Linked DNA regions of Homo sapiens: region 2 is linked to region 1. The links are contacts of gene promoters, found by promoter capture Hi-C in blood cells and fetal thymus (Javierre and others, 2016). All regions are on one chromosome and are shown on one strand. The core of a region is centred on a gene start or on the middle of the fragment in contact, and the rest is flanking DNA. Distances in the headings are between cores, read along the strand shown. Region 1 holds the start of CA1 (carbonic anhydrase 1). Region 2 has its middle 100 kb from the start of LINC02849.

Region 1 (3,684 bases), core at 827-3,326:
ACATGCCCCCTGCCTCCCAACCAACTATGGGCAGTGCCAACTACACTAGCACATGGAATGTCTTGCCATTCATAGGAGACCAGAGGCTCTTGGTTTTCCAGTAGCTGGTTACACTGCTGACTTCTGTTTTAAAAAAGCAAGACCCACAACACTGGAGTAACTTTCCAGACTTTACAGACACCTATAAAACTCGAAGTTCTGCTCTCTGTGATTGTAATTCCACTCTATACCTGGCTTAGCCCTTATGAGACCAAGTCCAATACCTCCCTAATGCTTCTAAGATTCAGGTTCCTGCTAATCCCACCCACTTCTCCTGCCTAAAGGGTAACCTGACTGAAGTATTCCACCCTGTGTGCTCTCCTAGGAGTAAAAGGAGCATCTGCTGGTCTCCGACTGTCAAACCATTTATTCCCTTCCATCCTCCTCGCCTTCCCTTTCTCATTGTCAGTATCCCTACTCCCACCCCTATCTTTTCCGTCCTAACAGCATCTTCTCCTCTTGCCCTCTAAAAGACTACGTAAGTAAAATTCAAACCCACTGCCCCAGCTTCTCTGATATTTATACAGACATCCAAAATACAAACACATTTGACTGAAGTAGGCTCTTCTGCACTGACTATCCATAACTCATCACCCTGCTTCCACATATCCCACATCACACATTTACCCAACTGATAATTGCCCCAGAGATGAAAAATACTGAGAAATGAAAACCACTTCCAAACGGCCTTTTCTTCTGTATTGGGGTGCCCCCTCATGGCAAGTGGCAACTGCACTCGTATTTCCTCAATACATACCACAGATGGGCTACCCAATGAACAACTGCATATTCTCACCATATGCCCAACAAAAGCCACTGTCTTCCTCCAGTCCCATTCTTTAGTAATTTCCCTTTACCTAAATCAAGGTACAATTTTCCAGTCTAATGGTAATGCCACAAAACTATATTGTGTCCCAACCAACAAGGGTGTTTATCCCCTCTCCTTTGCCCTTCCATTACTCTGAAACTGGAAGCCACGAGATGCATTCTGGCCTCTCTTGGCATTCCTATTTATATAAATGTTAATTATTCTTTCCCTACCCAGCCAAATGTCATTGATGTGCCACATTTGTACCTATAATACTGGGACTCACCACTGCTCTGGGACTTGCTGCGATGGCCACAAGGACCATTGCTTTAGCCCAACAGTCAAAAATAATTGATGCTACCCTACAAATGTCCAAAACTCTAGTATATCATATTTCTAAGTTACAGCAAATATTAGTCCTGCTAAACCAGGGAGCTTTGGCAAAAATGTTTTTTGACAGTAAATTTGTCCTTGATTATATATTAACTAGTCAAAGAGGTGTTTGTAACATTATTAGAGCTTCTTGTTGTAGGTGGGTTAACACCACCAATCAAGAGGTCATTCTAACAGAAAGCCTGGATCAGAAAACCATCACCCTAAAAAAACATGCCTTACATATTTAACACACTCTGAAATCCAGTCAAAATATGACTAAAGGCCCTTGCCATGACTGATGTATTCTCCTGGCCAACGCCAAACAAATGGGAGCCTGGTTACGAGTCAGCCTTCAGGGACTTGTCACATTTCTACTTGGTTTCTTCCTTGTTATTGTCATAATAAAATGTTTTCTATGCTGTTTAGTGCAACTTAGGCCCTATTCTGTAGAAGTCTCCTCTACTATTCAGGCCACTCAAACACCCCAAATAATTGAGTTCAAAATCGACATCAAGATATAAAGGAATCAGTGACTAAATATATTTCATATATGGTATTTTTATTGATTATTGTGCTGTCTTGACCTAGTATGGAGGCCTTGGCTAGAGGCTGGTCAGTTTCCTCTCTTGAGCAGCTGATTAAATCCACACCCCAACCACTTCCCTTATCAGGTTCTCACACTCTGGGGCCACTATGTACCCACTCTAATCACCACAGGGCCAGACATCAGACAATTAAGGACAGCGCCCATGCCCCAAAGCCCGCCAAAATTATGCAAATTATTCAAAATTATTCAACCTAGCTAACCCCACCCTTTTTGCTGTACATAAGCTGCCCATTCCCCCTCCAGCCTGTGGTACCCAGTCCTCAGGTGCAACCCCCTGCGTGGTCCTCTGTGGCAGCCTTCTCTCATTCAGAGCTGTAAGTAACAAAGACTTCTGCCTTTCATCTAGCTGAGCATTGAAGTGTTTTATCCGACTGCCAAAAGAATCTTTAAATCTTGTAAAATACAGTCCTACCTACATCTTAATTACTATTCAATGAATGAAAGCTGCAAAGCTTAAAAAACCTTTATAGTTTTTCTAAACCTTTTATATTTATCAAGCAGATCTCTGTAAATCTGTAAATCTGAAAAGGATAATATAAATTACCTTTTTTTTTTTTGAGACAGAGTCTCACTTGGCAGCCTAGGCTGGAGTGCAGTGGCACCATCTCTGCTAACTGCAACCTCTGCCTCCCAGGTTCAAGTGATTCTCCTGCCTCAGCCTCCCGAGTAGCTGGGATTACAGGCACATGCCACCACACCTGGCTAATTACTGTATTTTTAGTAGAGGGGATTTCACCATGTTTGCAAGGCTGGTCTCGAACTACTGACCTCAGGTGATCTGCCCTCCTCAGCCTCCCAAAGTGCTGGGACTAGAGGCGTGAGCCACTGTGCCCAGCCAATATAAATTACCATTTAAAATTATTCCATGACTAATGTTCAATTTGACGTTAATTCCCCTAAACAAATAATGCAATTGATAGACTTGGTTAATTAAGTTCCTTTAAATATTATATATTATATCAATTACAAATTTAGTCTACCTGAATCTCTCAAGCATTTCAAATGCCTGACACATTAGTATCTTTTATACATCTTGCAAGTTTATAAAAGGAGGGAGGGGGCTCTAATAATTAAAGCAATTCCAGTAAAAGTAATAAACCAAATTTATGCAGTAGTAAGTTATGTTCTCTTAAACATTCAAACACTGTGTATAGACTGAAGAAAATGCTCTTGTACTTTAAAATTGAAATTATATGGTTCATATATCTGATTTTCTAATATATCAGGTTATATTAAATGCTTCAAGTAACTTAACAAACAATCTTTCATAGGTTATCTCAAGGATTAAATAATTAAATTTCTAAAGTTAATACAAATGTGTTAATATTGTGGATTTGACTAACTTCAACATTCTTATAGTTATTTCTCTCTTCTCCCAGTATTGTAAATCCACTTATGCAAATAAAGAGAATAGATAGATGTATGATCTGATTGGGCTGAGGATACTGTATCAGAGAATCAAGGCCAGGGTTGAAGTGTCAGTTAAAGAATTTGAGAGAGGGTCAGGGACCTAATTAGGTACCACACATGCCCAGGGTGCCTCTACACGACCCGAAAGTCAATCTGCTGGGCATCTCCTTGAGGTAACAGAGCTTTCCAAATTCACACTGTTTCATGCAGTCTAGTATATCATGTGTACCCTTACCTAGTTTTATTTATTTATTTATTTATTTATTTATTTATTTATTTATTTATTTATTTTTGAGACAATTTCTCTGTCACCAGGCTGGAGTGCAGTGGTGTGATCTCAGCTCACTGTAACCTCTGCCTCCTGGGTTCAAGCAATTCTCTTGCCTCAGTCTCCGGAGTACCTGGGACTACAGGCATGTGCCACCACGCCCGTCTAATTTTTGTA
Region 2 (3,684 bases), core at 879-3,378, 580 kb before region 1:
AAAACAAGTTCTCAAATAATGTAACAGAAAAGGGGTGAGTGGCAATTAACAAATTCTTAAAGATCTTCCTATTTAAGAAAAGATTCTACTGATTTAGTCATCTAGAATAGCCATTAAAAGTGTAGACTTGGTAGTGAAATTGCTGTGTTCAACATAAAGACTGTGTCATTTAGCAGGAGTGTGCCTTTGGGCAGGTTACTTACATTTTGTTTATCTCAGTTTCCTTATCTGTAAAATGGGAACACTCATAGTGTCTATCTCTCTACTAATACGATACTCTATATTTATCTAGATAATACTAATACTATAGTGTCTAGATAATGTGTGCAGAGAAAGTGCCTGGTACACGGTGACTACTCAATAAATGTTAGGAATTATAATGATGATGATGATGATGATGATGATGATGATAAGTACCTTTTGAAAAACTAACTTCCTTAGGATGCCAGTACCTGTAATCCTGGATGATTCCAAATTTTCTGTATATCAAGAAAATACTCACCTTTACCATAACATCAAGAAAAATAAAATACTTAGTAATAAAGTTAAGCAAGGAGTTAAAAGACCTACACACTAAAAATGATAAAACATTGATGAAAGAAATTGAAGAGTACACAAATAAATGGAAAAATATCCTGTGTTCATGCTTTGGGAGAATCAATATCATTAAAATGTTCATACCATCCAAAGCAATATTCAGATTCAACACAATTCCTAAGAAAATTCCAATGACATTCTTCACAGAAATAGAGAAAACAATCCATTTGTATGGAACCACAAAAAAAAATGTGTATGGAACCACAAAAATCCCCAAATAGCCCAAGTAATATTGCCAAAGGAAAGCACAGTTGAAGGCATCATACTGACTGACTTAAAATTATATTACAAAGTGATAGTAATCAAAACAGTATGGTATGGGCACAAAAAAGGAAATGCAGGCTAATGGAACAAAATTGAGTCCAGAAATAAATCCAAACTTGTGGTCAACTAATTTTTGACAAGGGCACCAAGAAGACACAATGGATAAAAGGTAGTCTCTTCAGTAAATTATGCTGGGAAAGCTGGATTTCCACAGGCAAAAGAATGAAGTCAGACCTCTATCTTGCACCATACATAAAAATCAACTCAAAATGGATAAAAGGCCTAAATGCAAGACCTGAAAGCATAAAACTCCTAGAAGAGAACATGGAGGAGAAGTTCCTTGATGTTACCCTTGACAATGATTTTTTGAATATCACACCAAAAGCACTAGCTACAGAAGGAAAAATAAATAAGTGGGATTATATCAAACTAAAAAGCTTAAACACAGCAGAGAAAGAAATCAACAAAATGAAAAGGTAACCTATAGACTGGGAAAAATATTTTCAAACCACATATCTGATAAGGGATTAATATCCAACATTTATAAAGAACTCTCACAACCCAATAGCAGAAAAACAAATAAACCTACTAAAAAATGAGCTAAAAACCTATGCAAATATTGATCCAAAGAAGACACAAAAATGGCCAAACAATATATAAAAAGGTGCTAAACATCATTAACAATAAGGGAAATGCAAATTAAAACTACTATGAGATATCACCTCACATCTGTTAGGATGGGCATTATGAAAAAGACAAGAGATAACAAATACTGGTGAGGATGTGGAGAAATGGAAACCCTAGTACACTGTTGGTCGGAAAGTAGTCATTATGAAAAACAGTGTGGGGGTTTCTAAAGAAATTAAAAATAGAACTACAATATGACCCAGAAATCTCTTTTCTGGGTATATACCCAAAGGGGATGAGATCATCACCTTGTAAAGGTATCTACGTCCTTCAATGTTCATTGCAGCATTATTCACAATAGCCAAGATATGAAAACAACCTAAGTGCCTGTTGACAGATGAATGGATAAAGAAACTGGTATAAATATACAATGGAATATTATTACTCAGCCTTAAAAAAGGAGATCCTGCCACTTGCCACAATATGGATGAAACTGAAGGACATTATGCTAAGTGAAATAAGCCAGACAAAGAAAGACAAATACTGCATTATCTCACTTATATGTGATATGTTTAAAAATGTCAAATATACAGAGAAAGAAAATAAAACAGTGGTTACCAGAGGCAGTGGGGAGCCAGGGGAATGGAAGAGGAAATGGGGCTATGAAGAATGAATGAGTTAGAGATCTAATGTACAACATGAAGACTGTAGTAACTAAAATTCTATTTTATTAGGAATCTTTGTTAAATAAGATTTTAGCTCTTACTGTGTTCTTGTCACAATAAAAAGTAACTGTATGAGTTGCTAGATATATTAATTTGCTTTGCTATAAGTAATCATTTTACTATCTATATGTATCTCATAACATCATGTTGTAAACCCCAAATATACACAATAAATTTATTTTTTAAATATTTTGTGTAACAGATTTAGTTTTGATACTCTTATGACTTTAAAACAATGACAGGAACTATACTGTATGGTTTTGTTTTTTAAATGAAGCAGGCTATTGTCTAAATGTATTAAAGCCAGCCAAAAGATTGACCATATGTGAAAACCTCAGGCAACAGCTCAAGGTGAAAGACAGAAAATATGGGACTATAATCCTGCAATGTTTCTAAACACAAAGCAGGCATAGCACAGATATGCAAATGAAGTAAAAAATAGGAATCATCATTGCTAGTCTTGAAGGCTTTCTGTCCCAAATGGAGACTCAAGGACAAGGAAACCAAAATGCTTTACTGTAATGCTCCAGAGACTCATTTAGCAAACAAGGGTATGATTATAGTTTATTTCTTTCTTGGAAATATTTCACATTCATCTTTCCCCTCCAAACACTTTGACCCTACCCTAGCTGGCTTCTTTTCCTTTCATGCCAGATTGCTGCCACAATCTAACTGTTTACCCTTATGTAAGACTATTCCTATCATAACCCTAATACTAACTGAAACCTTGCTTTAAGGAAGCTTCTGAAACAATTAGCAAAATCTTTCTAAACCCAAATCTTTCATCTCATTCTTCCATTTAAGATTCTTCATTACTTTTTACATTAAATCTAAGATTCACTTTCTAGTTTTCGATATTGCAAAGAAACTTTTTTCTTGATGGAAATTATATCTACATTGCTTTTAACATCTAGTTAGAGAATTATATATTGTACAAAAAAGTGACATTTATAAATTCAAAGTAGTTTAAATACAAGTTCCAACAAGAAAATTATAGAATGTTATAGGCTAACTGCAAAATTCATCTGGAAAATAAAACATGAAAGAATAATCAAAAAATTATTTTTTAACATAAGAGGGAATTTGATCTTTCATATATTGAAGCATGTACTTAAGTTATAATAATCAAAACTGCCTTACATTCCTTAAAAAATAGAACAATAGGGTGAACCCAATAGAGAGTTCAGAAACAGAGTAATGTATACTTTGAAATTTAGTAATGATAAAGGCAGTATCTCATATCAGAGTGAAAAGTACAAACTACTCAGTAAATAATTTTGTGCCAACTAATTTTTCATTTGAGGAAAAAAGGTAAATTATTTAAATTACACTATGTACAAAAGTGAACTCCAGCTGGATTAAAAAGTTAAATAAAAATTGTTTTAAAATAATTTCAACTTTTATTTTAGATTCAGGGACTACAAGTGCGGGCTTGTTACATGGGTATATTGCATGATACTGAGGTTTGGGG

The links. Contacts are between HindIII fragments. The CHiCAGO score rates a contact against its expected background, and 5 or more counts as called.
Region 2: a contact is called between a fragment that was not itself captured here and the fragment with the promoter of CA1 in region 1, in 6 of 17 cell types (erythroblasts, naive B cells, total B cells and 3 more). The highest score is 13.9, in erythroblasts.

What each region holds. Positions count from the first base shown.
Region 1 is chr8:85,376,505-85,380,188 of GRCh38, reverse strand. CA1 (carbonic anhydrase 1) reads left to right here and starts at 2,076. Exons shown (of 8, transcript NM_001128831.4): 1 at 2,076-2,143. RefSeq lists a promoter at 1,257-2,048. The HindIII fragment of the contact is 5,896 bases long and covers 1-2,283 here.
Region 2 is chr8:85,955,349-85,959,032 of GRCh38, reverse strand. No RefSeq gene overlaps it. Among named protein-coding and RNA genes, the nearest start is that of LINC02849, 100 kb to the right of the region's middle. The HindIII fragment of the contact is 1,656 bases long and covers 1,301-2,956 here.